Regions from separate parts of the Homo sapiens genome. Here all the other regions are linked to region 2. The links are contacts of gene promoters, found by promoter capture Hi-C in blood cells and fetal thymus (Javierre and others, 2016). All regions are on one chromosome and are shown on one strand. Each heading gives the region's core, a stretch centred on a gene start or on the middle of the fragment in contact. The rest is flanking DNA. Distances are from core to core; before and after follow the strand shown. Region 1 overlaps LBX1-AS1 (LBX1 antisense RNA 1). Region 2 holds the start of POLL (DNA polymerase lambda). Region 3 has its middle 16 kb from the start of TLX1. Region 4 has its middle 22 kb from the start of LINC01514.

The links. The method cuts DNA at HindIII sites, captures the fragments that hold promoters and counts their contacts. A CHiCAGO score of 5 or more calls a contact.
Region 1: a fragment that was not itself captured here is called in contact with the fragment with the promoter of POLL in region 2 in 2 of 17 cell types (erythroblasts and endothelial precursors); the score reaches 5.8 in erythroblasts.
Region 3: a contact is called between a fragment that was not itself captured here and the fragment with the promoter of POLL in region 2, in 1 of 17 cell types (endothelial precursors). The highest score is 7.3, in endothelial precursors.
Region 4: a fragment that was not itself captured here is called in contact with the fragment with the promoter of POLL in region 2 in 2 of 17 cell types (endothelial precursors and neutrophils); the score reaches 5.7 in endothelial precursors.

What each region holds. Positions count from the first base shown.
Region 1 is chr10:101,231,680-101,237,675 of GRCh38, reverse strand. LBX1-AS1 (LBX1 antisense RNA 1) reads right to left here. Exons shown (of 3, transcript NR_029380.1): 2 at 5,242-5,422. Among named protein-coding and RNA genes, the nearest start is that of LBX1-AS1, 5.1 kb to the right of the region's middle. RefSeq lists an enhancer at 716-1,638. The HindIII fragment of the contact is 3,789 bases long and covers 1-3,257 here.
Region 2 is chr10:101,586,733-101,592,724 of GRCh38, reverse strand. It overlaps POLL (DNA polymerase lambda), which reads left to right and starts at 4,468. Exons shown (of 9, transcript NM_001174084.2): 1 at 4,468-4,903; 2 at 5,319-5,479. The coding sequence starts at 5,365. It overlaps DPCD (deleted in primary ciliary dyskinesia homolog (mouse)), which reads right to left and starts at 4,404. Exons shown (of 6, transcript NM_015448.3): 1 at 4,325-4,404. The coding sequence starts at 4,388. RefSeq lists enhancers at 4,119-4,448, 4,549-4,828. The HindIII fragment of the contact is 7,368 bases long and covers 1-5,632 here.
Region 3 is chr10:101,143,647-101,150,203 of GRCh38, reverse strand. No RefSeq gene overlaps it. Among named protein-coding and RNA genes, the nearest start is that of TLX1, 16 kb to the right of the region's middle. The HindIII fragment of the contact is 2,312 bases long and covers 771-3,082 here.
Region 4 is chr10:101,195,039-101,201,069 of GRCh38, reverse strand. No RefSeq gene overlaps it. Among named protein-coding and RNA genes, the nearest start is that of LINC01514, 22 kb to the right of the region's middle. The HindIII fragment of the contact is 6,853 bases long and covers 1-5,780 here.

The DNA.
Region 1 (5,996 bases), core at 114-2,613, 350 kb after region 2:
TGAGGCTAGGGAATCGCCAGCCCACCTCATCTGTCTCTGCGAAGACACCCGAGCTGCCTCTCGGAAGCCGCTCGAGACTCACAGTCCGGGCTAAGGCCACGAGGACGGCAAAGTTAGTCCAGGCCTCTCCCTAGGGGACAGGGCTGTGGCGGGTGGCACCTCACCAAACGAAAAGAAACGAATAGAAAGAAATACGTAGAGGCGGAGGGAAGAGGAAAGGAGACGGAGGAGGAAGAAGAAGATGGGGGAGGGCTGGTGGCCTCCCTGGAGGCTTGGGATCTGGCTATGCGGAATTCCCGTGAAGATCCCTTTTGAGGTCTGGTGCATGCCGGCCCCCGCAGGACTGGCGGAGCCAGGGCGGAGGTCTTGGCCCGAGGCTCGCCGCATAGGTGTAGGGAGGCTGAGTGGGGACAGGAGGGAGCGGCGAAGGAAGGGAGTCGACCTAATTAATGGAAGTGAAGGGGCTGGGGAGGAACTGGAGGGATTGAGCGTTGGTGGGTGTGAGATGGGATGAATGCAATCCCTCAGGATCGGGAACCCAGGGACTTGTGGGAAGTGGGAAGAGCCAAAGGGGCCGGGTTTCGCTCAAACGAAATAAGGTTTCGGAAGTTACGGAGTGTACCTAGGGGGCCGCGGGGAGACAGGGGAGTCTGGTCCTGCAGGAATTGCTTCCACAGGTCCAAGAAAGGCTGGGAGAGGCCCAAGTACGTGGGAGTTCAGAGAGGGCGGAGGGCCCTGCAGCTTCCCTGGCGCCTCACTTCAGGGCAAGGAAAGTCCTGGCCAGGACGAAGCAGCCCGGAGGGATCCCGGCTCTGAGCACAGATCCGAGCCTGGCGTCTTCACTGTGCTTGGAACCACGCCGCCCACGTTCCCTGTGCGGCTGGGCACTGCAGATGCTGGGTTTTCCACAGGTCAGACGTCCGCATCCCTTATTCTGGCTCCGTCTCGCCGCCTGTCTTCCCTTGCCCGGAGTCTCGGGACACCTGAGCGGCTTAGCTGAGGTAGCACTTCCCAGCAGGCGGCCCCCTGACCCATGGGGCCCGAGGGGGTTGGGACCGGGGAGGCTCTCTGAACTCGACCTGGGTAAATCCAGGATACTGGTGGGCGGGGGATCTTCCACCCGACTCCCTTTTCAAGTGCCTTAATTGGCTACTCCCCTCCGCGGGGAATTGGGCGCCGCGCGGCGGCGGCGGCGCTGATGCAACCGGCCCCCGCGCGACTGCTGAATTATTCACGTGCAGTTTATTTATTATGAGAAGCCTGACTCAGGCCTTTCCTGTGTCCATTTAGCCGGGCGGGCGGCTCCTCGGTCTCTTCGTCTGTCCCCACTAGGTCCTTCCACCTTTCCACCTGGCCTAAGCTCAGGCCCCATGCCCGGCCTGCGCCCGGCGCCCCCCGACAGTAGTGAGACCTCTGTGAAAGGGAGGGAGCTGACTACCATTAACGGTTTTTGGTCAGACTTTGATGTTTCTGGGCCGTTTGAGTTAGTAAGACAGAGGGTCAGCTCTTGGAGTTTCTGGGGATGGCAAGGAGAAGGGAACTCCAATTGTAGGCCCAGGAAAGCAGCCTCTCTCATCCCATCCCCACCCCTCACCCCACCCCATAAATAAGTAAATAGCCATCCCAGGAGTCCAGCAGCCCCTGGCTCTAGGCTGCAGACCTGCTGCCGATAAACAAGAGACTAAGGGTTTCACCCTTACCCAGTAGCTCACCGCCAGGACAACAGAGGGAGGAGCTATAGGGAACTCTGGAACCTCTCTTAGGGTGGCATCTTCGGGCTTGTGCTCGGCTGTTCCCTTTGCCTCCAGGATGGTCCCTGCTCCTGCACCTATTTACATGCTCCTGGTTTTACAAAGTTCAACTCAAATGCCACCTCCATCAGGAACAGAACCAGACTCTCCCCCCACACCGCGCCCCCCCCCCCAACACACACACACATGCTCACTTAGGTTCCTTTATCCTCTTCACAGACCCCTGGGCTACTGGAGTGGCGTGTGGGTGTCTGTTTCCTGCCACTCCTGCCTGCCCATCACCTCCCATCTTCTGTCCATTCTTCCTCTCTGCTTCTGGGCCCAACGAATGATGGGGGGGTCAATCCTATTTTCTTTCTTTCCTTTCCTTTTCTTTTCTTTCTTTCTTTCTTTTTTTTTTTTTTTTTTTTTTTTTGACAGCGTCTTGCTCTGTCACCCAGGCTAAAGTGCAGTGGTGCGATCTCGGCTCACTGCAACCTCCAACTCCCAGGTTCAAGCAGTTCTCCTGCCTCAACCTCCGAGAAGCTGGGACTACAGGAGCATACCATAACACCCGGCTAATTTTTGTATTTTTAGTAGAAACAGGGTTTCACCATGTTCACCAGGCTGGTCTCAAACTGCTGACCTCAAGTGATCTGCCCTCTTCGACCTCCCAAAGTGCTGGGATTACAGGCCCAGCCACTGCGCCCGGCCTTAATCCTATTTAAAAAAAAATCCAGCCTGGGCAACATCATGAAACTCCATCCCTACAAAAAATACAAAAATTAGCTGGGCTTGGTGGCATGCTCCTTTGGTCCCAGCTACTTGGGAGGCTGAGGTGGGAGGATCACTTGAGCCTAGCAGGTCGAGGCTGCAGTGAGCCCAGATTGTGCTACTGCACTCCATCCTGGGTGACATAGTGAGACCTCATCTCAAAAACAAACAAAAAAAGCAAATGAAGGAAGTTCATTACTAAGTCAGACCACACCACCACAGCTGGGTCCACAACCCAGGAAACTCACTCCATAGCCAAAAAGCATTAGAGAATGAGGCTTCTGGGCCCCTCTGAGTATATTGGTGTGAGCAGTAGGAGCACCGCACGCATCTGCAGGCAGCTGGCAAAACCAATACACCTACCCCTGGTCCTCTCTCTGAGGCACAGGCTAAGTTCCCTGTCTGGCTCCATTTTTGTCCCTTGTTTATTTATTTAGTTTATTTACTCAACAAATGCTTGGACCCCTTGGTGTATGCTGGGCTGGCATAGGGGCATGGAGAGGTGATTCAGGTCCTTCCTTCCCAAGTTCACAACAGATGGAGAGAGAGAGGCAGGACAGACAGACAAAGCAACACATTCTTGGCAATATGACAGTGACATCCAGGGGAATGTGCTAAGGAGCGCAGAGGAGCTGAACAGGGCAGAGAAGGTTTCCCCCAGGAAATGAGTTGAGCACTAGAGACAGAGCAGGAGGTGCCAGGAAAGGAAGGGACACAAATCATCCCAACCCTTGGATGAGGGGAGCAAAAGCTTGGAACCAAAAGAGAAGGCTGTTCTAGAGGCTGCAGAGAGTGGGCACCCAGGACTTGAGCATCTCTGGGAACTTGTCTCTTCTCCTCCCTTCCTGTCTCTGTCACTCAGTGGTCTGTCTATGTCCCCCAGTACTTCCAAAGGGCAAGCACTCCCCGCTCCTTCCAAGCAGGATTACAGTGCCTGGAGGAGGCTGGTGCATGTGGTATGGTCACCTTGTCACAGTGCTCTGAAGGAATTCAGCTCACAAAAGAAGTAGGGAAGGGGAGAATCAGGGAGGGGACCAAAGGAGTGTCCTGCCCTCAGATGGTGCCCCACGTCTTCCTGCCAGCTGAGGTCCTAAGAGCTGGGTGTGGCCAGAAAAAGCAGGGCAGGTCCAGGAGCAGGCTTGGAGCCCAGCCTGAATTTTGAAGCAGCTGCCTCCCTGCTCCCCAGGCCTGGGAGGAGGCCGCTTCCATCCCCCTTCCCCAGTGGCTTGCCTCCCTTCCCTACAGTGGCCTGATTCCAGCCTTTACCTTTTCTGGATCCCCACCCGCTTTGAGAATCCTGGGTGTTATATAATATTGCTCCCAGAAAAATGTGCCCACCTGGGTACACATATAAATTTCTGAGATTTACAGAGCCCCTGAAGCCCATTCAAAGAGCCCTTGGGGGACCTCTGGTTAAGAACCCCCTGGTTCAGGAATTAAGGGGACAGACTTGAATAAGAAACAAAACAAAACAAAAGGACAGTGTTCCAATCCTGATCACTCCAAAACAGGCTGTGTGACTTTGGATGGGTTACTTAACTTCTCTGGGCCTCATTTTCCTGTTATGTAAAATCGGGGTAAGAGCATAGCTACCTAGAAAGATTGTGAGTAATAAATGAAATGAATAAAACTCTTAGCCTGGAGCCAGGCACAAGGTAAGGGCTTATGGTATTTATTGTCATGGTTATTGTTGCTGTTACTGCAGACAGTGGCCCAGGGCAAAATGTAAAAACCAAGTGGGCAGTCCTGACTTAGCCTGGGTGGCAGGAGGCCGTTTATCATAGTCCACTTCCATAGGAGAAGAAACACTCTGAATTCCACACAGAGTGTCAGAGTAGCAGGTCTTCATGGGACAACAACAACAACAGTAAAATGATCCGCACTGCTGGCCAAGTTAACTTGTTTCAAGCAGTGTCAGACCCTTTTCTCTAAAGGAACTCTGGCCTGAGAGTCAATGCTGGTGCTTATACAAATAATCTGGAAATGAATGGGGGTACCAAAACAATCCAGAGTGAATCCAATGGAGTCTTTGGGGGTTTAAGCGAATTCTTCTCCTGTGTTAAGGTTTAACCTGTTTTGTTTGGGTCTGCAGGGTCCCCTTATTGTGGCAATTCATGAAATGCTGTTTCCCTCTTCTTTGTCTGGAATATTCCCTAAACTGAGGGAAAGCAGATTTTTGGCAGAATGATCCCTTCCCTATCCACTGAGAAAGAATAAACCTGGACCCTGGCTGTTTAAGCAGCAAACAGGAATTGAGGATCATGGTAGCATATAGATTATGCTCTGAAGACAGGTATTCCCTCTGTGGAGCAGACTCTGGGAATCAGCTGCTTTCAGCTCCAGGTGAGAAGATGCTGGCCCAGCTGACTGGGGGTGGGGAGACCCCCAGAGTGTCTGCCTTGCCCCAGCATGGGGGCTCAGTAGGGGATTGGGCAGAAAGATTGGAGCCCAGAATGTCAGGGCTGGCTCTACCCCCACTGACCCTGTGTTACTCATTTCTGGAATCCTCCTAATCTCTAAACTCCTCTGAGGGGCCCAAACCATTCCCCTCCACATTGCACAATCATGTATACCCCATTTGCTCTATGGAAAGTCATTCAACCGATATTCAGCGGGAGCCCGGTGTCTCCTAGGACTTCGAAGGTCCGAGATGAACTGGAATACCCAGAGGAAGGCTCCTGCCCTCAGGTCTGGCAGAGGAGGCAGGTAGGGGTCAGTACACAAACCCAAAACATACCTCATTGCTCTGCAAGAGGGGTACAAGAGGCAAGCGGATTGGGGTCCCAGGAGTCCAGAAGATTCCAGACCCCCACACAATGCGGTTTTTCAGCAGCGAAGGTAGGGGTGGGACCACGGTGTTGGGAAAAGGTTGGTGTAGCAGGTGGGCTGGTTTCCAAAGGTGGCCTGGATAAGGGGATCTGGGTGAATCAAAACAACAAAACACAGGGTGATACCACAGACTTCCCCACATCCCTGCACCTCACACTGCACTCCACACCCCAGCCATATGGTGTGCCCAAGTGTGTTTAACCAAGAGGCCAACCAATTAGGTCAAAAGAGCCAAGCCATAGGATTGGACAGCAGGTACAGGTCAGCCAGGGAAGAAGAGGTTTGGTGTTGGTGGTGGAGGTAACTCAGCAGATGATTGTGAGACGTCGTGTTCCTTTTGACATGGTGTGGCTGAAGACTAAAGATCTCAGTACTAGCCAGCAGGATAAGACATTAAGAACACGCCAAGCAGAGGGACCCCTCTGCTCCCCAGTTCATGTTCCCCTTCCTGTCAGCTTCCCAGTAACCCTGAACTCCGCTGGTCTTGAGGATCTGGGAGATGGGCAACAGCAGGGGATTGGCTTGTCCTTAAAGTCCTATCCTGTGGGCTAGTACCAGATGCGATGCAAAGACTGAAGAGGACAGGAAGGGTGTGGAAGTATGGGAGGAACTCTCTCTCTCTCTCTCTCTCTCTTTCTCTCTATTGGGATCCAAGGGTCCTTG
Region 2 (5,992 bases), core at 3,219-5,718:
TTTTTTTTAGAGTGTCTTGCTCTGTTGCCAAGGCTGGAGTGCAGTGGTGTGATCTCGGCTCACTGCAACCTCTGCCTCCTGGGCTCAAGTGATCCTCCACCTCAGACTCCCGAGTAGCTGGGACCATGGTTGCACACCACCATGCCCAGCTAATTTTTAAATTTCTTTGTAGAGATGGGGTCTTACTATGTTACCCAGACTGATCTCAAACTCCTGAGCTCAAGTGATCCTCCTGCCTTGGCCTCTCAAAGTGTTGAGAATACAGGTGTGAGCCACCACGCCTGGCCCTTAACTTTGTTTAAAGTGGGTTTTCCCAAACAAGTGTTTTTGTTTTTTAAGAGTGTCTGGCTATGTTCCCTAGGCTGGAGTGCAGTGGCTATTCACAGGCATGATTATAGCACACTACAGCCTCAAACTTCTGGCCTCAAGTGAGCTTCCTGCCTCAGTTTCCCCAGTAGCTGGGATTACAGGTACCCAACACAGGTGTTTAGTTTTTATAAAGCCAACTATATATTTTCTTTCTTTGTGGTTACTGCCTTAGAAGTTGCACTCAGAGCATCTTCCCTTACCCAATGATTATTCGATACTTATCTATACTTTGTTTTAATAGTATATTTATTCTAGAAATAAATGTATATATAAATTATTAAGTATATTAGTATATTTTTGTAAAAGAAAAATAACTGTGAGTGTATGCATGAAATAATATAGAAGTTTATGTATAAAAATATAAATTATGGGCTGGGCGAGGCGGCTCACGCCTGTAATCTCAGCCCTTTGGGAAGCCGATGCAGGCGGATCACCTAAGGTCTGGAGTTTGAGACCAGCCTGGTTAACATGGTGAAACCCTGTCTCTACTAAAAATTAAAAAAAAAATTAGCCGGGCTTGGTGGCGGGCGCCTATAATCCCAGCTACTCAGGAGACTGAGATAGGAGAATCGCTTGAACCCAGCAGGCAAAGGTTGCAGTGCGCCGAGATTGCGCCATTGCACTCCAGTTTGGGCAACAAGAGTGAAACTTGTCTCAAAAAAAAAAGTAAATTATGATTATCTGGGTGGTAATATTATATTTGACTTCTTTATTTTTCATATTTCCACAATGAATGTAATTATTTCTTAAAAAAACAAAAGTAAAATGGAGTCTCATTATCCAGCCCAAGATATCAATAGCCATGATTCTTGGTGGAAGGGAGTAACCTCCCCCCTACTCCCCACACCCCTCCTACACACCCAGGGGTAAATCTGCAGGTTTGACAAGGCTTAACCACATATGCAATACTGAGTTGTTTTTCAGTCTGGGGATAGGGTGGAATCTTAACAATATCATTTTGTGATGCTACTAACAAAAGAACTTAACAAAATCCTGGCTGATAAAATATTTGTTTAAAAACTTCTGTGACCAAAAACAGTGAAAGCAGGGACTCAAGTGGATATTTGTATACTCATGTTCAGAGCAGCATTATCCACAATACCCAAAAGGTGGAAGCAACCCAGGTGTCCATCAACAGATGAATAAATAAACAGAATGCAGTGTAGACATACAATGGATATCACTCAGCCTTAAAAAGGAGCAAAATTTTGACACATGCTACAATATCCATACCTCTGTGCCCACCTCTTCCAGGCACAGCCCTTGGTCCTTGCTCTATCTCCCCTAAAAACACAGGGAACATTTAGAGGTTTACTTTATGAACGATATTACAGCTGGAAAGGATCCAAACAAGTAAAGGGGCCAACTAGAGATCCTGTGGTGAATTAATGGCACAGCTGGAAGTATCCAACTGTGGCAACATGGATGAACCTTGAAGCGTTACACTAAGTGAAATACACCAGTTACAGAAAGACAAATATTGTATGATTCCACTTAGACGAGGTTCCTAGAGCAGTCAAATTCATAGACAGAAAGTAGAATGGTGGTTGCCAGGGGATGGGAGGAGGAGGGAATGAGGAGTTGGCATTTGGTGGGTACAGAATTTCACTTGAGCTGAGTGTAGTGGCACATGCCTGTAGTCCCAGCTATTCAAGAGGCTGAGGTGGGAGGACTACATGAGCCTAGGAGTTCAAGGCTGCAGTGAGCTATGATCGTACCCCACAGCCTGGGTGACAGAGCAAGACCCTGTCTCTAAAAAAAAAAAAAAAAAAAGAATTTCCGTTGAGAAAGATTAAAAAGTTCTGAAGATGGTGGTGATAGTTGCACAACAATGTGAATGTACTTAATGCCACAGAACTGTACACTTAAAAATGATTAAAATGCTAAATTCTGTTATGTATTTATTACCACAATAAAAACAAAAACCACTGTCCTATGAGAAAATGTCCTAAATCTTTAGCAAGGCATAAGAGATCTATCACAATATGTCCCAACTTATCTGTCATCTCTCTTCATTTTCCACAACTTCCCCTCATTGCTCCTTGAGAAAAGGGACCTTTTTATTCTCGCTTCCATCCTGGCACCTAGAATAGTACCTGACATAGTTATAGGTGGTTTGTTCTGACTGAGTGACTGCTTTAACATTACTAAACATTTTGTTATTCCTCTAGTAATCAGGCACGTACCTTCACACCTTCACATAGGGTCCTTATATGTGAGTTGTTCTTTGAATAGCTATCCCCTCTTCTTCACTCAGCAAACGCCTATTAATTCTTTTTTTTTTTTTTTTTTCCAGTTTTTTTGAGACAGGGTCTCGCTCTGTCGCCCAAGCTGGAGTGCACTGGCATGATCTCGGCTCACTGCTGCGTCTACCTCGCTGGCTCAAGCGATCCTCTGGCCTCAGCCACCACAAGTAGCTGGGACTACAGGCATGTGCCATGATGCACGGCTTATTTATTTTTTTGTCTGAGACACAGTCTCACTCACTCTGTCACCCAGGCTGGAATGCAGTGGTGTGATCTCAGTTCACTGCAACCTCCATCTCCCGGGTTCAAGCGATTCTCCTGCCTCAGCCTCCAGAGTAGCTGGAATTACGGGTGCGCACCACCACACCTGGCTAATTTTTTTGTATTTTTAGTAGCGATGGGGTGGTTTCATCATGTTGGCTAGGCTGGTCTCGAACTCCTGGCCTCAAGGGATCCGCCCACTCGGCCTCCCAACATGCTGGGATTACAGGCGTGAACCACCACATCCGGCCATAATTTCCGTATTTTTTGTAGAGATGAGGTTTGGCCATGTTGCCCAAGCTGGTCTCGAACTCCTGAGCTCAAATGATCCGCCCACTTTGGCCTCCCAGAGTGCTGGAATTACGGGCGTGAGCCACTGTGCCTGACCTTATTAATTCTTTAGGACCCAGAAACATCATCACTTCTGTTGGGTCTTCCTCCAAAGAGATGTCACTTACACCTTCACTCTTTCCTACCATTTTATACAAGACTACAACCTCTATTTAACGCTTCTTATTATTTAAGTACATGTTTTTCCCAACCACTCTGAGTCCTGGGACAACATATCTTTTTCTTTCTGTTCTAGTTTAGAGCTTGGCACATAGTAAAAGTCTTCCTAAATGTTGCACGAACGAGTAAATGATTTTAATTTCCACAAACTCCAGGCTTCCCTGATTGGCCCCTGCCTGTGAACATGAGTCACCAGTTGTTATCTTGAAAGCCTCAGGAACTTCAGACGCAATTCATCCTGGCTACCCAGTGGGTCCAGAAAGGACCCAAGTGCACAAAGGGGCCGGCATCGGCCAATCCTAGGGTGGGGAAAAGTTAGGTATCCATGCCCCTGTGCCCACTTCTTCCAGGCACAGCCCTTGGTTCTTGCTCTAGCTCCCCTAAAGACACAGAAAATATTTAGAAGTTCACTTAACAAAAATATTACAGCTGGAAAGGACCTCAGAGATAACAATGGTAGTCCATCCACTTCATTTTATAGATGAGGAAAGTGAGGCCCAAACAAGTAAAGGAGCCGACTGAAGCGCCCGTGGTGAATTAATGGCACAGTCGGAACTAGAGCCCAGGCCTCTCTCCTCTCTAAAGTCTAAAACATTCTTGGATTTCAGTTTCCTCTTCTGTAAAACGGGGTGAAAATTAGCCTCTCAGGACAGTGGTGAGGAGCAAATGAGATAATGAATGTAAAAGAAATTACTATATTAGCAACAGAAATCAGAGCGGAGCGAGATGGTGTAGAGGAATCTAAGGGGTGTCCGGAGACATGTGTTCCAGTCATGTCATCTCTGTGAACCTCAGTCTCCTCATCTGCAAATGCAGGACCTGGCCCGGCTGACCGCCGAGACCCTTCCAGCTCTGCCGACCCAGGCCCTGAGGCCCTTCCCGGAGGGCCGGACCCTGAGGGAAAAAAACGAAGGAGCCCGTGGGGACCCTCGAGTTACCGTCCTGCAGCAGCGCAGTCTTCTGGGCTGTCCGCAGACTCTCCAACCAGCCCGTCACCGCCATCTTTCCCCTGCTAAGCAGCACGCCCAGCCGCTGCCATGGCAACCGTTCCAGAGGGTCACTTCCGGCTGACTCGGAAGCTATTCTGGCCATTTGCCCTCCTTCCCCCCTTCGTCCGCTCTCATTGGCTCTGCTGGTAAGTGGTCTATTCCTGCCCACCCCCGGGTGACTAGCTTGGCCAGTAGTCGACCCCACCCGGGGACCGACTCTGGGGGTTGGAGAGACTCTTGGGGCCGGGGTCGGGCACTCCAGCTTTCTTCTAGCCCCGAGCTGGGATTCCCTGGCCTGCGCCAGCTGCGTACACGGCGAGTACACCGCACCTGCCCGGGACTTCACCCGCAGCTGCGAGACTCCTCCATTCCCGGAGGGCTCCCCACACCTGCTGCGGCCGTGCCCCATCTCCCCGCAGCTGCGGCGCTGAGCACCCCCATGTCGAGAGGCTGAGACCAGGACAGGTGCAGGGCGTTCCCACTCACCCCCGAAAGTCCTCCTCCTTCCTCTGCGAGTCTGTGTTGGAGGTAGAGAAATAGTATGTGGGGTTTATGTGCAGGTCCTCCCCAGGCTCCGCTCCATCCCCTAAAGCTCCATTTCCTAGCCCAGCATCCCATTTGGTAAAGCCCTTCGAAGTGGGCCGCAGCAGGGCTGTGCTGAATCTTTAGCGCAACCCCTCTGAGGAATGGTGTCGTTTCCTACTCCTCAAAAGTACCCCCGATGGCACCAGCCTTCCCCTCATTTCCCGTAATACTCCAACTTCGAAAGGCTGGGGAGTGTGAAGCTAGGCTAAACCACTGAAGTTTAACCGGGTTTGAAGAGACCCCCTCCCCCGACCCGCTTCCCCAAACTGGGCTGCTACCCCCAAAGCCTGGTCAGGAAAGACCCTACCTCCATAGGCAAAGGGGTTGGAGGGCCTCAATTCTGGATTTCCACGTGCAGCAGCCCTGACCAACGCTCCAATAGGCCGGGATCCAGCCATACTTCAATGGATCCCAGGGGTATCTTGAAGGCATTTCCCAAGCGGCAGAAAATTCATGCTGATGCATCATCAAAAGTACTTGCAAAGATTCCTAGGAGGGAAGAGGGAGAAGAAGCAGAAGGTGAGCTGACCCAGTCTCAGAACCCTCGTGTGCTTGAACCCACAGCCTTCATGTGCTTCAGCCCTACGTTGTTTATGTCCAGAATCAGATATTGGAGCTGACTCTGCCTGTCCAGGGCCTGCAGGTCTGTTTGTATCTACCTTGTGCTAAGCTTGGTCCTGGGTCTTGGACAGGCTATTTGCTGTGTTACCTTCTTTTCTACCCGAAGACCTCTATCCATCAGAAAAGACTCCCTGGGCCCTCAGGGAATGACCAGTATAATTTTTGCCCTGAGGACTGGGACAGAAACCCCCCTCCATTACCCAGGCTTGTTGTTAGTTGTTTTGCAGCCAAATTGGCAAATAAATGGCAGAGGCTTTGGAGGCAGGGTTGTCGGGTCTGTCAGACTGTAAGGGCAAGAAACGCGCTTTGTTGAAAGAATAAATGATAAAGGATTCAAAGTATGGAGAGAGGCTGGGCGCGGTGGCTCTTGCCTGTAATCTCAGCACTTTGGGAGGCCGAGGCAGGCAGATC
Region 3 (6,557 bases), core at 677-3,176, 440 kb after region 2:
GTGCAACTGTAGTCCCAGCTACTTGGGAGGCTGAGGTGGGAGGATTGCTTAAGCCCAGGAGGTTGAGGCTGCAGTGAGCCATGATCCTGCCACTGCACTCCAGCCTAGGTGAAGAGTGAGACCTCATCTCAAAAAATAAATAAATAAATGGTTTTTCAAAATCAAGTGGACAAGATAACCTACTCTGGATCTCAGTCAGTCTCCTTCCCGGGCACTGCAAGTCCTGCTCAATGTGCTCTTAAATAAATGGGCCCAAGATCAAGAAGAAAGAAAGCTGTGCATAAACTCAACATCTCCCAAGTCTAAGCTTACTGCAAAATTAACCAATTTGCCAGCAACTGGGATCAGCTTCAAGGCCCCTACTGTGTAGAAACTTACCACAAGATACCTCACTGGTGCCTCTATACCATAACGCCAGCGGCACCAATGAGGTATCTGGTGGTAGGCTTGTATATGCCTTTTCTGAGCGTCAAGCTTCAGCTAATACATTCATTCAAGGCCTTATAATTGTCTAGTTTTCCACACAACATTGCTGTTGACAAGAATACATTTTGCAGTTTTAACAATGGGCTAATATCCACTAGATTCACCTAGAGCCTACATTTCCCAGCCTCCCTTGCAGCTAGCTCTTCTCAAAGGAATGTAAGTGAAATATGCACAACTTTGCAGTCATCTTCTTAAAGAGCTTGCCTTGGAGTTGCTGCCCCCTTTCCTTCCTCTGTCAAGGATTGACACAAGTTTGGAAGGTGGCTGCGGAGAATGGCAAAGCTTCCTCACTAGCCTGGGCCTCCCGATGCCTTCACAGAGCAGAGCTATCTGTCTTTCCTAGATGCAAGAGAAAAAATAATTTATATCTTGTTTGAGCCACTGTATTCTGTGTTATTAGAACAGCCTGGTTTGTCCTTTACGGTAGTGTGGTGCAGTACTTCAGGATGAAACATATGCTATGAGCTGGTACTTAATATTTGCTGCTATTTCCCCCATAGCCTGATTGTATGACCCCAAAAAGAGAGGGCAATACCTTCTACAAGTCCCCAGTGACACCCTCACTTTCTGTGACTCTTGTTTCTACTATATTAGAGTTAGAGTCCCCAAGAGAAGAAAGTTCCCACCAAGAGAAACAATGTTTTCACTGAAATGGGAGCATAAATTCTTACCTGGTCACTTCTGGTTGCTCCTGTCAATGGATGAGCAAGGTTAAAGGAGACTATGGAATTGGCTAGAGCGGTAGCAAGTTCAAGTAGAATGTTTTCCTATACAATGGGGCAAAAAGGAGTATTCATGGAATCACAGGGCTCCCTTGGGGTCCCTTGTAGTGCTGTTATGTCCAGGGGTAAAAGTTAATGGAAGACCACGACAGCCCTTTCTAGGCAGGACCATCAAGGGCTCAGATCCCTCAGGAACAAAGGCTTGGCTCTCTCCAGGATAAAGAACCCAAACCAGCCCAGGTGCTGCCTGAAGGCAAAAGAAACAGAATGGAAAAGGGAGGAGGAATGTCATGAATACGAAATATGCAAAAAAAAAGACAATGGTTTTTACGTCCTGACCTGTTGTCATATTAGACAGTCTATATTTTAACTTCATGCATTTTCTTCCATTCTTATTCCCTTGTAATTGTATTATTATTATTATTATTATTACTATTTTTTTTTTGAGATGGAGTTTCACTCTTGTTGCCCAGGCTGGATTGCAATGGCATGATCTCAGCTCACTGCAACCTCCGCCTCCTGGGTTCAAGCAATTCTCCTGCCTCAGCCTCCCGAGTAGCTGGGATTACAGGCAACTGCCACCACATTCGGTTAATTTTTTTTTTTTATTTTAAGTAGAGACAGGATTTCACCATGTTCACCAGGCTGGTCTCGAACTCCTGTCCTCAAATGATCCGCCTGCCTCAGCCTCCCAAAGTGCTGGGATTACAAGCATGAGCCACCATGCCTGGCCACTACTATATTATTATGTGTGATGATTATTAGCTTTACAATTTAGTCTAATCCACAAGTTGCACAATATTGAGACCAGATTCCAACAGAACTAGAGAAGGAAGAGAACAAAGGTATTGAACTTAGAGCTATGAGGCTTTGGATTGTCAGGAAAGTTGAATATATTTTCTGTCATGAGTGACAGTAACATGTTAGGTGGGAGCATTTTGTGGAGGAAAAGCCTGTAAATTTAGGAAGAAAGGCATATGTGAATATTGGGCAGCCAAAGGGGTGGGTCCCCTCGAGTGGGTCCCCCCACCCTTTTTTAACCTAGCATCTGAACACTTCCTGATAGGGAGACTGTCCTCAAACAGGGTAAATATTGGTGGAACAGTTTTAGCTTTTAATATGGAAGTCTAAGGGACTATGCTCTTCCCTCCCATCTCTGACAACTAGTGCCTGGACACATGTCCTACTCTTAGTGTCGTTAAATGATACTCCATGAGTTTTGAATCTTGAGGGAGTGAAGTGAAGATGGAGGAAAAGTTGGGAAATTACTCTCAGTGATGTTCATGCCGGAGTCTAGCAGCATGTGGTGCTAGCAGCAGTGCCTTAACGAAGCATTCCTGTGTTTCCTGAAACTGATGTTCCTTAATTCCTCAGCCTTCCTATTGATCCTGTAAACTACCGAATATCCCTGGAATCAGTGCATTTTTCTTCTCGGGTTAGCTGGACTCAGACTCCACACACTGAGGGACTGCAGAAAATCAAAGACTCAAGGGAGGAGAGTATTCCCTGCAGTCCAGGGTGGAGAAGCACTCTCTAAACCTTATACAGAGGAGAGGGCTTCTGGCTCCGTATTGGTTGGAGGGGACACTGTTTCCTACAGGCCCATTTTATGGACTCTGATCACAAAGCAGACCCGTTTGTCAGGACAACTGGGGTGGTTATTGACTTGCCAGACCAGTCGCCCAGAAATCCAAAGGAATCAGTCCCCTGAACCCCTACCCTGCCTCCAAGGACCATAAAGTCAGAGAAGTATAGAAGTTTCGGCTCCCTGGGGAGGAGGAGCCAGGGCTGGGTTAGCTCCTCGCCCCGCCCCATAACTCCTGGAGATTCCAAAGATGTGCAGAGGGAGTTGCAGGGCCGACTGTGATGAAGCTTACAGCACTGCCACAGGGAATTTCCAAGTGACAGGGACCCCAGGGTGCTTCTCCTCAACGGAAATTAACAGCACCTGAGCTCTCGTGGCCTTGCCCTTGCCCCGATCCTTCAGGGAGGCTGCGAGCTGGGCAAGAGAACTCCAGGGGGATGGCAGGGGGAGTGTGTGTTTCCCCTTCCAGGTTCTCGCCTTCGAAGTCCGCGCCTTGGAATCGTGCGCCCCATCCTCCGGTCGCAGGGCAAATCCTGACCCAAAGGACCCAGCCCTTTTCACGCTTTTCCTAGCGCCTGCCCTTCTGCTGCTGGCAGCTCCGGATCCGGGCGCCGCGCGGTGCCGGGTCGGCTTCAGCCCAGCGCTGCTCGCCAGCCTCTGCCGCGCAATCGTCAGGCGCCAATTCACTACCGCGACGGGCCCGGGTTGAGCTGGGAAGGGCCTGGTGCCCTGTGCGGTGCCCTCGGAGCCCTGGGGCGGCCTCCGCGTAGTCACGAGGTCTCCCACCTCATTCTAGAAATGAGACTCCGGGAGCCCGTCGGGAAAAGCAAGGGGTGCAAGACCCAGGCGTCCTGGAGGCCGTGGCCCGGGTCTGGGGTCCCAGGAAGGGATCGTCCACAAGCGAACCCCACGGCAGACATCATCGAGGCTCAACCCGCCTGAGACATGTGGCCCTGAAGCTCAGGAATCAAGAGACAGCCCCTCTCTGCCAGGGACGGGGACACCACCACTCAGGCCGCCTCCGCAGTCCAGGAAAGCGCGGCGGGGCCGGTTCCTTGTCCACGCGGTCTGGCGGAGCCCTCGCCCCTGGAGAAAGAGTCAGGTTTGGCCGAATTCTCCAGCTGCTGTGGCGACCGTGGGGTTAGAGTCGCACCACCCCTCGCGGAGCCCTGGTCTGGAGTCCGAGCTGACTGGAGGCTCGAGTCTGGGGACTCGTCAGAGCCAAACAGATGGCTACGGGCTGTGTGTTTTTCCCTGCACCCCTGCCGCGCCCTTCCACACCCTAGAGGGCCAGATTTGGAGGGCGACGGTGCAAGATGTCCCTGCCCTCCGGAAGAGGTTTATATTCGGCCTCCTGGATGCCGGCGGGGCTGCGCTTCAAAATGAGAGCAGATTTCTCGTCTTTTCACAAATCTGGTGAATTACATCTCGGCATCTAGCCCGGCCCGGCCCGGACAAGTCCTTGTGGTGGGGTGTGGGGTGGGGCGCTTCTGGGTCATTTACTAACAAGCCCTCCCCCCGCCCCCCACCAGCTTGCCGCAGGGCACAGAGCGGCCTGGGCACAGTGAGGCTGGAGGGAAGCGAGTTTTTCTCACTTACGGGCTGTCTCCAGCGCATGGCCTGGCACCTCCATGCAGGTGTCCCTTGGCAGCTCAGGAGCTCAGTGGATCTCTGTGAACGTTTGTGCTTGGCTTCTTCTGGAGGTGACACCCCAAGACAAGCCAGGACATCAGGCTGCTGTGTGGAGGGGACAGTACAACCCACCCCAGGGCGGAAGGCTCAGGGATGGCTAGGGGCACCTCCCTGGAACTGAAGGTTCTGCTCATTTAGTGCAAGCAAAGACTCCAGGCCTTCCAAAGATCTGTTTCTTCAGCCCATCTCCCACCCAGACAATCCCATCCCCCTGCTCGACTTTACATGGAGGGAGAGAAGCCAGTCTTGCAGAGTCCAGGCTGAATGGAGTCCCACAGGCACTGGAAACCTTGGGGCTTCTATGGGGTTAATAAATTGGTTCCTCCATATTCTTTTGCCCACTCCTCTGCAGAATTCGCCCCAGGGCAATAATCACAATAACCATACCACCGCTGCGCTGCACCCAATTTCTGGCCTGAGATGGGAAAGGGAGAGAAGTCAAAGCCTGCAGATGTGAAGCCTCTGATTCCCAAAATGGGTACAAGAATACAACTGTGTGTCTGTGAGCTTTCATGGCTGGGCTTGCGAACAGGTGTGCCAATGTGCGGGGGCCGATTTTCTCTGACAGCAAGTGAATGGTGAGGGACCATGAAACCCCTATGCATTTTCCTATGAACCTGTTGGACAGGCCTCCCCAGTCTGTGCAATCAGGTGTGGCCACCTGGGAACAAGGTGATTGCATGTGATCCTGAGATTCCCTAGGCCAAAGGTAAGGGAAAGCTGCCCCTCAACTTCCCTCCAGAAATTGAGGGTCTGGGAATGAGGTGTGGAGGGTAGAGCCCCTGAGATTTGTAGGACTCACCCTGAGGGCCCCAGGAAGTCCTGAGTGTGGAAAACCCAGGCCACAACACCTTGGGCTGCTCTATGCCATTCCTGGAGCATCTGTGAAGAGCCAAGTGCTTTTACCTGAGTTATCTCCTTAATCCCCTTAATCCAGGTTAATTACAGGTTGGTCCTGTAATATGGGCAAGGAAATTGCAAGATCCTAAAACTTAATGAACTTACTCAAGGCTGGACAGCAGAGAAGCCAGGCTTAACATTTAGGCTGATCTTCAAAGACACTTCAACAGCTGCTTGGGGCTGAAAGAGGGTTTTTGGAAGAGGGCAGGTGCAGAAGGAGAGGGGATCTGGCATCAGAGGAGCAGTGCCAGGAACACGGAAAATAGCAGGACATAAAACACTGGGATTGGTGAGGCCTGTGGCATGTGGACAGTGCATTCTAAAATGTCTTATCAATGCTCTGGGAAAAAGAAAAGCCAAAACAGCCTATCAGAAGGGGATATTATTTGTGTCCCTATTTTTCATTTCTTTAAATAAAATGGAAAAATGCTCTTAAGCAAATAAAACAAGATTACAAGTCATGTTTGGCAGGCAACTTTAAAACCCTAGGATTAGATCTTAGATGTGGGGAAGTAGTTTAAGACCTTGATGCCTGAAGCAGTGTCAACATTACCAAAAGATTATTCTAAATGTGCAATCTCATCAAGATTCATCTCATCAGGCCCCATCAAGATCTAATGAATGAGAATCCACATTTTAACAAGATCCTTGGATGATTTTTGCACACACAAAAGTTTAAGACACTGGCAGGGGCTATTTGTATATAAATGAATACACCTTATATAGTATACAAAAGAGCCTTCCAGGGATGTTCCCCTACCCCCACCTCCCGTATCGTGTAGAAGGTGAGGGAAGGAGGCAAGGCCAAGCTCACCCGCTCGGTTCTTTCTTTCTTTCTTTTTTCTTTCTTTCTTTCTTTCTTTCTTTCTTTCTTTCTTTCTTTCTTTCTTCTTTCTTTCTTTTCTTTCGTTCTTCTTTCTTTCTGACAAGGTCTCACTCTGTCACCCAGGCTGGAGTGTACTGTCATTATCACAGTTCATTGCAGCCTTGACCTCCCAGGCTCAGGCAATCCTCCCACCTCAGCCTTCGGAGTAGCTAGGACTACAGCCGTGTGCCACCATGCCCGGCCTAAATATATAGCTGGGGGGGTCTCATCATGTTGCCCAGGCTGTTCTCGAACTCCTGGGCTCAAGCGATCCTCCCACCTTGGCCTCCCAAAGTGCTGGGACTCT
Region 4 (6,031 bases), core at 1,105-3,604, 390 kb after region 2:
AGGTGATTAAAAGTTTTATTGCTCACACAAAGCCTGTTTGGTGGTCTCTTCACATGGGCGCGCATGAAAGCCACCATGCCTGGCTAATTTTTACATTTTTAGTAGATGGGATTTCACCATGTTGGCCAGGCTGGTCTTGAACTCCTGAGCTCAAGTGATCTGCCCGCCTCGGCCTCCCAAAGTGCTGGGATTACAGGCATGAGCCACCATGCCCGGCCTGGGGATTACATTTAAACATGAGATTTGAAAGGGACAAACACCCAAACACCTGTTCAATACAGGTAGTATATATATGTGCCTCTGCTTTAACAAGCCAGACATCCTTTCATTTTAGCATAGCAACATTGAATGGGAAACATCCCGTCTTTCCCACTTTTAGCCTTCAAGCTGCCTGTGCTCTGTGAGGCAGCCCCTGTCCCCACCCCAGATCTAGGAATGCCTGTTGCCAAATGAGGAGGAATGAGAACTTAGAGAGATTCCACAGGGGCTCTGCCAAGCAGACGTGATGCTCAAGAAAGAAAACTCTGGCCTCTGGGTGGACTCCATGTCTTTTGAGTCCTAAGTGCAGAAGGTGAAGAGGTGCCTAAGACTCTCACTGACCCGCCCACCTCTGCAGCACGACCTTCCAGCCCCAGTGAAATCTGTAGCACTATGTTCAACTTCCAGAATTCTGCCTTCAGTGTCAAGCGTGCAGGGTTCCAGGATTGTCCAGGCCTGGTGAAATATTGATATTCGTCTTCCCTGAAAGGATAAGTTGCGATCAACGTCATACATCTGTCAGATAGGAGTCAGCCCTTGGAACTTTCCGTAGGATTCTTTGCCACCCTCCACAGAATGCATGGTGGGTCAGATACTGTGACACTGGCCAATTCTCTCTCAGCAATGGTGGCAGGAGGTGGGTGAAGAGAGGGACAGTCGGTTGGCATCACCGTGAATTCTAGTTGTTTGCAGGGGATACAGCGTGGAAGAATATTCTCGGCCTCTGAGAAGAATTGGCCCTTCTATCCAGCTGGAGATACTCTTGAGGCACACAATTCCAACAGAGAGAGGGGCAACAGGTACCCCAAAGCTACCGGCAATTGCTTCAGTCAGCTCTGTTCAGTGGCAGGGAATGGGATCCTACCCAAAGTAGCTTGATATAACAGCTGCAGAGGATTCCTCTTTTTAGAAAAAGATTTTTATTTTCAATTTTTGTGGGTACCTAGTGGGTGTATATATTTACAGGGTACATGAGGTATTTTGACACAGGCATACAATGGGTAATAATTACATTAGGGTAAATGGGGTATCCATCACCTCAAGCATTTATCTTTTCTTTGTCTTATAAATAATCCACTTATATTCTTTTAGTTTTTTAAGTGTATAATAAATTATTGTTGACTGTAGTCACTCTGTTGTGCTATCAAATACTAGGTCTTAGTCATTCTTTCTATTATAACTAATATGTTTTTGTACCCATTAATCATTTCCTGCCTCCCTCAACCACTACTCTTCCCAGCCTCTGGTGACTATTGCTCCACTGTCTGTCTCCATGAGTTCAATTGTTTTAATTTTTAGCTCCCACAAATAAGTGAGAAGATGAGAAGTTTGTCTTTTTTTTTTTTTTTGTGAGATGGAGTCTCGCTCTGTTGCCCAGGCTGGAGTGCAGTGGCACAATCTCGGCTCACTGTAACCTCTGCCTCTCAGGTTCAAGTGATTTTCCTGCCTCAGCCTCCCAAGTAGCTGGGACTATAGGCATGCACCACCACGCCCGGTTAATTTTTTGTATTTTTAATAGAGACGGGGTTTCACCATGTTGGCCAGGCTGGTTTTGAACTTCTGTCCTCAAGTGATCTGCCCGCCTCGGCCTCCTGAAGTTCTAGGAATACAGGTGTGAGCCACCACGTCTGGCCAGAAGTTTGTCTTTCTGTGCCTGGCTTATTTCACCTAACATAATGATCACCAGTTCCATCCATGTTGTTGCAAATGACAGGATCTTTTTTTTTTTTTTTTTGAGATGGAGTGTTGCTCTGTCATTCAGGCTGAATTGCAGTGTCATGATCTCAGCTCACTGCAACCTCCACCTCCCAGGTTCAAGTGATACTCCTGCCTCAGCCTCCCAAGTAGCTGGGATTACAAGTGCATGCGACCATGTCTGGCTAATTTTTGTATTTTCAGTAGAGACAGGGTTTCACTGTATTGACGAGGCTGGTCTCAAACTCCTGACCTCAAGTGATCTGCCCGCCTCAGCCTCCCAAAATGCTAGGATTACAGGCATGAGCCACTGCGCCCAGCCAACAGGATCTCATTCTTTTTCATGGCTGAATAGTACTCCGCTGTGTATAAGTACCACATTTTCTTTATCTATTTGTCTGTTGATGGACACTTAGGTTGTTTCCAAATCCTGGCTATTGTGAATAGTACTGCAATAAACATGGCAGTGAAGATATCTCTTTGATAAGCTGATTTTCTTTCTTTTGGGTATATACCCAGCAGTGGGATTGCTGTGTCATATGGTAGCTCTATTTTTAGTTTTTTGAGGAACTTCCAAACTGTTCTCCATAGTGGTTGTATTACTTTACATTCCAACCAACAGCATACAAGGGTTCCCTTTTCTCCACATCCTCGTCAGCATTTGTTATTGCCTGTCTTTTGGATAAAAGCCATTTTCACTGGGGTGAGATGATATCACGTTATAGTTTTGATTTGCATTTCTCTGATGATCAGTGACTGAATACCTTTTCATACGCCTGTTTGCCATTTATATGTCTTCCTTGAGGACTCCTCTTTGACCCTTCCCTGGAGGTGGGCTGTAGCAGACAATGGGACCCCCACTCCACCAGACCTGGCTGGTTGGAGCAGGTAGGTACTGACCCAGACTGGGCCTGCCAGAGTCTTTCTCCTGGGCATTCGGACAAGGGCTAGACATCTCTGTGGCCGGACATCTCTGTGGCCACTTGAACTTGCATAATCTGGGGCTATTGACAGCCATGTTTAGCCTCATGCACATGGAGAATTGAAGGAAATTGGTCTCAAATAAGATACTTGAGACCATAGGCCCATTTAGAGAAGGTCTGCCTGGCTTTCAGGTCATCCTGAGACCCAGGTGTGCCACCTGTCCCAGGGTTCCAGGAGACACCTGCCATCCTTATAAGGACTACCCTTTTAAAGCCGGGTGTGGTGGCTCATGCCTGTAATCCCAGCACTTTGAGAGGCTGAGGCGGGTGGATCACCTAAGGTCAGGAGTTCAAGACCAGCCTGGACAACATGGTGAAACCCCGTCTCTACTAAAAATATAAAAATTAGCCAGATGTGGCAGCAGGTGCCTGTAATCCCAGCTACTCGGGAGGCTGAGGCAGGAGAATCTCTTGAACCTGGGAAGCGGAGGTTGCAGTGAGCTGAGATTGTGCCACTGCACCCCACTCTGGGTGACAAGAGCTAAACTCAATCTCAAAAAAAAAAAATAGACTACCCTTTTTGCGTAAGTTAGCCTGGGTGGGTTTCTATCAGTTATACCTCCAGAAAAGCCTAAGACAGGGTATATTATACGGGTTCAGAGAATGTCACAGAAAGAAGGGCAGGAAGCACACTGGGGCTCAGGAATTAGGAAAATTCTGTCTCTCTCTCTCTCTCAATTTGCTCATATGGTTCTCGTCTCTCCTATCTATCTCAGCAGGCTAGCTTTCTTCTTTTTTTCCACTAGTGAGTCCCCAACCAAATTGTTGTCCTAGTCCTGAATCTATACAACCTTCAGTTCCAGCCATCAGACTGTAATCCCTCCCTCTCAGTTGAAATATGAGGGAGAGGCCGGGCGTGGTGGCTCATGCCTGTAATCCTAGCACTTTGGGAGGCCGAGATGGGCAGATCACCTGAGGTCAGGAGTTCGAGACCAGCCTGTCCAACACGGTGAAACCCCATCTCTACTAAAAATACAAAAACTAGCCAGGCGTGGTGGCAGGCACCTGTAATCCCAGCTACTCGGGAGGCTGAGGGAAGAAAATCGCTTGAACCCAGGAGGTGGAGGTTGCAGTGAGCTGAGATCATGCCACTGCACTCCAGCCTGAGTGACAGAGCAAGAATCCATCTAAATAATAATAATAATAATAATAAAGAGGGGAAGAGGGCGAGAGAGAGAGGTTGATTCTGCCCTATGTCTTGGTTCCCCTTTGGGTCAAGTATCCACTCCTGCTCACACCGACCGTGACTGGAGGAGAAGGAGGCTCACACAGCACATTAATCAGTGCCCTCTCCCCGGCCTTTAAAGAAGAGACAGAAGTTTAACTCAAAGTAGCCCAAGGGGAAAGGCAGAAATGGCTTAGCTCCCATAAGTGATACGAACAGAGCAGGGAGGGCTTCTGGAACAACTGGGTCCAGAACACCAACCATGTCACTGGGGCTCGGCTCCTTTCGCTGTGCCGGCCTCATTTCCTCATGTTGGACCTTCGTGTGGGACATGGGAAGACTGACAACTCGAGGATTCTGTCACCTCAACTAGTGACTTTAGGGTCAAGAAAGACCCTCCGCCTCCTATGGCCTGTATGTAAAATCCCCGTTAAGGAGCTGATCAGCCGGTCTGAGTCAGGGACCCCTCCCTGGGCTGATCTTCCCTGAGCCAGGGGTGCAAGAATACGGTGATCAGCAGCCCCTCCGTGCCCACGTTGTGGTGGGGGGACTTTCTCAAAGAACGGAGCTGGTCGGGAGGGTCCTGGCCGCTGTGCTTGGTCTGTAGTGTGACACCCCTGTCAGGGGCTGGGGCTGTGGCAGAGAAACTAGCAGGGAAGCCAGGTGAGGAAGGTGGCAGTTAATGGCTCTGGAGGCTCCTCTTCTGTGGTCCTGATCAGCTCTTACTCCCAGGCCTGGCTTTGCAGACCTGAATTATTCTGCTGACAGCCCTTTGGCCTCCTTTATGTTCTTGTTCTCCCTGGAACTTTAGTGTCCTGCTAGGACTCATTCTGCCTGGCCTCAGCCGATGGGCTCCGGAGCCTGCTCCACTCTGGGGGAGGATTCCCAAAGCAGGACTCTGAGCCAGAGCCTGCCACTCCCCCGTCATGGGTTGGCACTGCCCATTGGGGCTGGAGGCCTTGGCTCCCAGGGGCCACTGGAGCCAGAAGAGGTCACTGTATGGAGTTGAAATGGTGTGCACCCGCTACGACATTACCAGCCCAGGCATTTGGCCTGGAGGATCCCAAACTGAGCTGGCTTCTGCCCCATGGAGGGAGGGTCTTACTAGCCCTTCTAGTAGCAATGATGAGCCCCTCTCTGTGTTGACTTCTGTCTTAAGCAAAGTTTTGTCAATTGCTAACAAGAATAGAAGGACGTTAGAGGTCAGAGGCCTGCAGGCAAAGCCTGCCTTCAAAACCGAGACATGGGGAGACGCCAGGATTACTTCACAACTCCAGCTGTCTCTCAAACAAGTCTGTTCAGACATCTTCAAATAAGCATCTAGCACTTCTCTCTGCCAGAATGTTGACACTCAGGCTTGCTTTCCCAGGGCTGAGTGATGCCTCCGTGGCTCTGGGTAGAACACCCTCCTGGGCTCGGAGGCGCAGCCATTGCCAAGAGGCAGGAGAGTAAAGCGGGGCATTCCTGCTTCTCAATCAGTACCTCTTCTGTCCACAGAATCCCTCAGCACAAATCACCTGATACATTGGACAAATCTGTCTGGACTCTTCAAAGATCCCATTCTTGGGAGTGAGGAAAGAGGAAGGACTGTTTTCCTTTCCCCCACCATCCCTTCCTATTCCCCACCTCTCAGCTCTGGCCGGGAGATCCCGAGAGTGGCTACAAAGGAGGCTGAAGCTTGGAGATTTCAATAGAGGCCTAGGATGGGGAAGGAACTTGACCCCTGTCTCACTGGGCAGCCTGGGGTGTACTGCTCCCGGGACCTACAGTCCTGCAGAGGTGGGAACTGGCCTCAGTTAAGGTCTAGTAAGTGCCAGGATGGACGTACCACTTGTGTGAATTCAGGAACTCCCTTTTAACAACCTTCTTATTTTGAAAAAATTTTAACGCACTGAAAAGCTAAAAGAATAGTATAATAAACTCTCAAATA